2 separate regions of the Homo sapiens genome follow, and region 2 is linked to region 1. Evidence: promoter capture Hi-C in 16 types of primary human blood cells and fetal thymus (Javierre and others, 2016). All regions are on one chromosome and are shown on one strand. The core of a region is centred on a gene start or on the middle of the fragment in contact, and the rest is flanking DNA. Distances in the headings are between cores, read along the strand shown. Region 1 holds the start of SNRK (SNF related kinase). Region 2 overlaps SNRK (SNF related kinase).

Region 1 (3,708 bases), core at 447-2,946:
GAAAGGTGGCACTGAAAGTTTCCTGCCTGAAAAGCCTTCAGGATGAGAGTATTATAAAAAGTTAGCACTGTGCACCTGACTTTCTACACTGCTTCAATATGTGACCTTGGAAATGTCATGTAATTTCTCTCATTTCTAGTTCTGTAAAATGGGAATGTCCACCTGTTCTCCTCTCAAGGACAATTACACAGATAATCAGATTAAAAATTTGGTATTTGGTGTTCTTTAAAAAAAGAAACTTGTCTAATTAGTATGCTTTAATCATCACTTGTACAGTACATTCCTCTTCAAGAATCCAATTCCAAGAGAAATATTTAAGCAGACGTTGAGGACAGATTTCCTTAAGGGAATTATTTTATAAATCTGGAAAGCAATGTAACGAGATTATAAATTAACAAACTGATTACATAAGCCTTGACAACCCGGGCTTTAAAGTACACTGCTGTATATATTCTGATAAGTTAAAGACTGGTTTGGGACATAGTGCTCCAATCCCATACAAGGAGCCCAAACTCAGGCATTTCATGTTTGATAGGAACTTGGTGGAGATTCAACAGGATGTCCAACACTTGCAAGCCATGCTTCACCTTAAAACCTGACAAAATGTTTAAGGCATTAAGTCAACTTTACCACGGTTCCTAAGACTTTAAGAATGCACATAATTAAAGGGAAGGGGGGTGGAAAGTAACATGACAGTTTGAAAGGTCCCATATCCTCAGACCTCTATAGATTTAGGAACTCCACTGCTAAATTCTCCCCAAAGCCTGAAACTCCCTATGAAACTACTGGACTGTATGCGATCCAACAGTTACAAATAGCACAGCTCCAAGAACCCCGAAGATAAAAGGCTGCCACTTTCCTGCAACCCAAGTCCAAGTAAAAGGCAGGAAGGTCCCTGTAAAATGGACCAGAAAGAAATCAACAGGCGATGACTATGGAAAAGAACGTAGATTTCCCAGTCTCCCAGTCTGCAAAAATTCTAGCTCTCCCTCGGGAATGGCACTGCTCCTCTTTCCTTACCCCTTTGCCCTTTCTCTACAGACAACATCCCCACTCTATTGTAAAGCAGTTTGACCACGGAACCCTTTTGCTGAGGCCGGATTTCTACAGTCTTCTGAAAGGGGAAAACGCATTCAAAGAACACACACCCTACCAAGCGCCCAGGGCGCGGGGCCCCGCGGGCGCCGCACTCGGCCCGCTCCGGGGCGGGGCGCGGGGATGCGGGCGCCTTCCGAGGTGCCGCAATCCCGCCGCGGCCGCAAGGGCAGGGCCTCCAGGCGACCGCGGCCGCCGCCGCAGTGACGGCTCCCGCCGGGCCCCGCCGCCGCCCCGCCGCCAGGCCGCGCCGCGGGGTCCGGGCCACCGCAGCCCGGGCCCCGCGTCCTCCCGGGCCGCGCGCTGCGGCCGGCGCCGAGAGCGCAACTTACTTTCCGCCTGCGGCGAGCGCCCCGGCCCGGGCGCCCAGCCCGGCAACAGCGGAGGCTACTGAGGCGGCGGAGGCCGGCCCCGCACCCCTGCCTACGGCCGCCGCGCCCCGCCGCGCTCCGCGCTCGCCCCTACCTCAGCCGGCAGGCGAGCGTCCGTCCGCAGCGGCCGCGGCGCCGACAACTCCCTCCCGGCCGCCGAAACCCCGCACCCAGCGCTAATCATAATACCGAGCGGGCTGCCGGCCGCGGGGAGGGGGTGCCGGGTAGCTGCGCCTGCGCGGGCTGCGCGTCACTGTGACGTCAGCGCTGGGGCGGGGCCGCGGGAAGGGCAGGGCGGGGCGGCGCGCACCTGCGGCCGGCGCGCGGGCTGCTGGAGGGCATCCTGGCGGCTTTCTGACCCCGGCGAGTCGGGGCTGAGGCGGCTGGCGGGACAAAGCGGGCAAGGCGCCCAAGGAGGATGGAGGACGGGGGAGGAGGAAGCACCAGGGACACGGAACAATGGCCGGGAAAAAGTAGCGCGAGCTGTCAGGGGAAATCGGAGGGAAGGGACCGCGTCTGTACAGGACTGCGTCTTGGCGGCAGGGGGCAGGGAGCCGCACGCGCTTTACTCTTTGGTTCCCGCCCAGGTTTAAACAAGGATAAAAAAATTGTAAAAATACATATACATACACACATGCACATATGTATATACATATATATACATAATATGATTTTTTTCTCTGTAGTTTCTTCTCCCTGGGACTCTAATTTGAAAAAATTCGGTTGATTTTGTTGTTATTTAAGCAAAATTGGAAAAGCCCAACATCTGAATGCAGTGCTGGCCTTAAAGGTCAGCGGGAGACACAGGCCCTGCTAGGCAGCCTCTGGCAACAGCATAGAAAAGTAAACGGTCGTGGGGACACATCAAAGCACGTGAAGTCAGAGATTCAAAACACGCCGGGCATTAACCATAGCCCTTGATGGTTCAGTGGTATGGTCGCCAGGCCAGGTTGCTCTGGAAGGGAGCTTAGGGATGGCCGCAGAGGGTGGGAGGGGACTCCCGACTCCCACCCCTGGAAGCATGGCATGCAATAGAGACCAGCTCTTCAGGGTTCCTGGAAGGGAACACCAACAAACCAGACGCCAGATTTCTTCAACCTGCTTTTCCCCTTCTGTTCCCACGTTGTGTCCACCCTTCCCCAAGAAAGGACCCCTAGCAAGGAAGGACACAAGCCAGAAGAGCTGCGGAGATGCTGCAGGCTTGGTTGAATTGACTGGACTGCGAAGAGAAATCTAGATGGTTTTAGCAAATCTCTGTTGACCTGCAAATGTCAAAAGCCTTTTAGCTTCTATGCATCAACTTTGCATGTCTGAAGATGATTGGGAAGCAGGAGTGGATTGTTGGGAGGTGCAAACAGTTTGATTCTTAGGGTAATAACATAGGGTTTTCTGATCAAGGGGACTCCCAGTTACCCTAATACCCTTGCATCAGGTGGTGGGAGAGCACCAGGGAAAGCCTCAGATTAGGCCTCTGCGCCTTAGGGTCCCACCTGGGATCACTCTGACCTGAAAAGACCATAAAAGAGTCATCTCATTTTGACATGGAAATCGTAACTGTAGCAGCATATTAAGCAAGAGCTCCTAACTTGGATTTGTAGAATTTGTCCTTTTGTTGCTAGAAATCAGGAAGACCATGCACTTTTCTCCTCAGGGAGATATCACTATTCAGGGAACTCTGTAGCCAACTAAAGGGAGAAAATACCACTGTAATGGTCTCCCAAGGGATTTCCAGTGGTCGAAGGCCTCCACCCCTGGGTCTGTAGTCCCTGAGTTATATCAGTAACTACAGAACAATGACGATAATATATAAGCTCTTGAAAAATAAAGTATTTATATTGCTGCTGTTTAACTAGGTTTTGAATAAATTTTCTAAGGAAAACAAGGCATAAAAGAGCAAAACAAATGAAAAAGGGCAAAATAATAAATTGATTTAAATGAAGTTGGCTGCAATACTCTTCTAGAGAAGGACGCAGTACTGGCCACATGGTAAATCATTTATTCATCCCCAGTATTTCTTGGGTAGCTGAAGTGCTGCTGGCAAGAATATGACCCAGTTTTGGTTCCACACCATAAATGTGGTGACATGATTTGATTATGCTTCGGCAATATTTTAAGATATTCAAGTACAAATTAATAGTATTACTTAAGTTGGAATTTAAGCAAATGTGCTTATAGTTAATGAAGAAACTCCTTTTCCACTCTGCCCTGGGGCTTTCTCCAACACACTGCTTTTTTAATGTTG
Region 2 (3,708 bases), core at 664-3,163, 48 kb before region 1:
AGAACAGTCTGGGCAACATAGTGAGACCCGGTCTCTACAAAAAGTTTAAATATTAGCCAGGCATGGTGGCACACACCTGTAGTCCTAGCTACTCAGGAGACTGAGGCAGGACAATCACTTGAGCCCAGGAGTTGAAGGCTGCAGTGAGCTATGTATGATTTTACCACTGTATTCCAGCCTGGGCAACAAAGCAAGACCCTGTCTAAGAAAAGAAAGAGAGGGAGGGAAGGCGGACAGAGGGAGAGAGCAAGGGAGGGAGAGAGCAAGGGAGAGAGGGTGGAGGGAGGGTAAGGAGGGGAGGAAAGGGAAGGAGAGAGGGGAGGAAGGAAAGGGAGGGAGGGAAGAAAGAAAGAAAAAGAGAAAGAATGAAGGGGAAGGGAAAGGAAAGGAATCCTCCATCAACTCCAAAGAATGGGGTAAAAAGAAAAAAAAAACTGAAGTAGGACAAACATAAAACATATAAAAAGATGGCATAAATAGATCTACATCTATCAGTGACTACAATAAATGTAAATGGAATAAACTCTCCATTTAAAACACAAAAATGATCAGATGGGATTAAAGAAAAACTCGGCTCCAGCCTGTTAAAAAAAGATGTATTTAAAACCAGGACAATGGGAAGTTTAAGAAAAGAAAGAAAAACTCTACAGCACACAAATGGTAGCCAACAGAAGACTGGTGTGGCTGAAATTAGACAACACAGACTGACTTTAAGGCAAAAAAGCAGTACTAAAGAGGGCCATTACCTCATTGATACAAATTGATAGAATGGGAAGATACGACACTTTTCAACTTGTTTGCACCTAATAACATTACCTCAAAACACTCAAAGCAAAAACTGACAGAGCTCCAAGAAAAAAAACAAATCCACCATCACAGTGGAAGAATACCTCAGTAACTGATAGATCCAGTAGGAGAAAGAAAAACTCATACAGGATGCAAATAATTTTGAACAGCATAATAAAAAAGCTTGATCTTAAGGATTTATGCAGAACTCCAAAACTGGAAAATATACACTATTTTCCAGAACAAAAAGACCTTATGCTAGGCCATAAGCAAGTCTCAGCAATTTGAAAAAACAAAAAAACAAAAACAACACTGGTACCATAGAGGCTATTATTATTGGACCACAACACAATTAAGTTAGAAATCAATAAAAAGCTAATTAGAAAAACGCCATACATTTGGAAATGTAAAACACCCCTGTAAACAACTCACACATGAAATAAATCAACACAAACTAGAAAATACTTATTAGAACTGAATAACAAAAGGACTATAAATCAAAACTAGTGGGATGCAGCTAAAATGGTATCAGTAGGCAATTTATACCCTTAAATTATTACAACAGAAAAGGGAAATTTGTGAGCTAAGTATCCAACAACAGAAAGAGGAAGAACAGAATTAGCCCATGGAAGTGAGTGGCACGAAATACTACAGACAAGAGAAAAGAAAATTAATAAAACATAAAACAAAAATTATAATTGTTAATAAAAGCAAAAGGTAGTTCTTAGAAAAAGACTAATAAAATAACAAACTTCTGGCAAAACTGATCAAGACAAAAAAAAGATAAGGCACAAATTATCACTATTGAAATTAAAAAGGACAATATATCCACACTTCTTATAGACTTAAAAAATATAACTAAAAGATATTATAGGCTGGGCGTGGTGGCTCATGCCTGTAATCCCAGCACTTTGGGAGGCCGAGGCAGGCGGATCACGAGGTTAAGAGATTGAGACCATCCCGGCCAACATGTTAAAACCTTGCCTTTACTAAAAATACAAACATTAGCTGGGCACGGTGGCACACACCTCTAGTCCCAGCTAACTGGGAGGCTGAAGCAGGAGAATCGCTTGAACCCAGGAGGTGGAGGCTGAAGTGAGCCGAGACTGTGCCACTGCACTCCAGCCTGGGAACACCACTAGACTCCATCTCAAAAAAAAAAAAAGATAATATAAATACTTGAGGTTAATACATTTGAAAAATTATATAAAGCAGACATGTCCCTTAAAAAACACAGCTTAGCAAAACTGAAATAGGAAAAAATTTTAAAAACCTAAATAGTCCCAATAATTTTTTTTTTTTTTGAGACAGGGTCTTACTCTGTTACCCAGACTGGAGTGCAGTGGTGCAATCGCAGCTCACCGTATCCTCGACCCTCTAGGCCCATGCCATCCTCCCACCTCAGCCTCTCCAGTAGCTGAGACCACAGGCGTGAGCCACCGTAACTGGCTAATTTTTCTTTTTGCTTGTTTGTTTAGTAGAGACAGGGCCTCCCTATGTTGCCCAGGCTGGTCTTGAACTCCTGGGCACAAATGATCCTTCCATCTTGGCCTCCCAAAGTGCTGAGATTACAGGAACGAGCCACCATGCCTGGCCCCAATAATAATTATTAGTTTTTTGAGACAGAGTCTCACTCTGTCGCCCAGGCTGGAGTGCAGTGGCATGATCTCAGCTCACTGCAACCTCCACCTCCTGGGTTCAAGTGATTCTCCTGCCTCAGCCTCCTGAGTAGCTGGGATTACAGGCGCCAGCCACCATGCCCGGCTAAGTTTTGTATTTTTAGTAGAGACAGGGTTTCACCATGTTGATCAGGCTGGTCTCGAACTCCTGATCTTGTGATCTGCCTGTCTCGGCCTCCTTAAGTGCTGGGATTACAGGTGTGAGCCACTGCGCCCAGCCTCAATAATTATTAAAAATAATCCTTCTAGGAGGGAGACACAGACAGCTACTAAGATACTAGGAACTGTTCTATTTCTTAAGCTAGATAATGGGTACACAGGCCCTCATTTTACTACATATACATTGTATACTTATTTGAATGATATATATATCAATATAAAAATAAGCTTTTTCAGTAGAAGCTGTGGAAATACTCCTTGAATTACAACATGCATCACAAACATCCAACATGCAGACAACGTATGCCCCCAGACAACTGCCCTGCTTCTTGGGGTAGAGAATAGTTAACAGTAACGTCATAAAAATAATCATCATCAATATTCATAGTTTCCTATGTGCTAAGGACCGAGCTAAGAGCTTTACACATATTAATTCACTTAATTTTCACAATAACCCTATATGGTAGTTTCTACCACTCTGACATCATTAGTAAATGGAGAAGTCAATATTTGAATCCAGAGTTTCAATACCTAAGTTCTTTTTTTTTTTTTTTTTTTTTTTTTTTTTGAGACAGAGTCTCGCTCTGTCGCCCAGGCTGGAATGCAGTGGCGCGATCTCGGCTCACTGCAAGCTCCACCTCCAGGGTTCACGCCATTCTCCCGCCTCAGCCTCCTGAGTAGCTGGAACTACAGGCGCCCAGGTAATTTTCTGTATTTTTAGTAGAGACGGGGTTTCACCATGTAAGTCAGGATGGTCTCGATCTCCTGACCTTGTGATCTGCCTGCCTCGGCCTTGAATACCTAAGTTCTTAAACATCCACCTGAGATGGGGCTTCATTTAGAGAAAAAAAGTCCTTGGGCAATCAGATTTCCTTCTTACCAGCTGATAGGAGAAACTCAAAACTCTGTTTCTACAGCAAAGTCCTGTAAGTAGTGGCTATAATCTCAGCTGAGCTCATTAAAAAATGTCACTTAAAATGTCAATACTGAACTTCCAACAGTTCTATTCCATTACTATATTTCTCACTACACATATCATAGTACTATGTACTACTTTAAATTCCAAATAATTGAGTATACTTTT

The links. Contacts are between HindIII fragments. The CHiCAGO score rates a contact against its expected background, and 5 or more counts as called.
Region 2: a fragment that was not itself captured here is called in contact with the fragment with the promoter of SNRK in region 1 in 5 of 17 cell types (total CD8 T cells, non-activated CD4 T cells, naive CD8 T cells and 2 more); the score reaches 8.8 in total CD8 T cells.

What each region holds. Positions count from the first base shown.
Region 1 is chr3:43,284,528-43,288,235 of GRCh38, reverse strand. SNRK (SNF related kinase) reads right to left here and starts at 1,696. Exons shown (of 7, transcript NM_017719.5): 1 at 1,561-1,696. RefSeq lists silencers at 1,162-1,211, 1,452-1,851 and an enhancer at 1,456-1,956. The HindIII fragment of the contact is 7,817 bases long and covers 1-3,708 here.
Region 2 is chr3:43,332,843-43,336,550 of GRCh38, reverse strand. All of the region lies in intron 4 of SNRK (SNF related kinase), which reads right to left. Among named protein-coding and RNA genes, the nearest start is that of SNRK-AS1, 17 kb to the left of the region's middle. The HindIII fragment of the contact is 1,883 bases long and covers 972-2,854 here.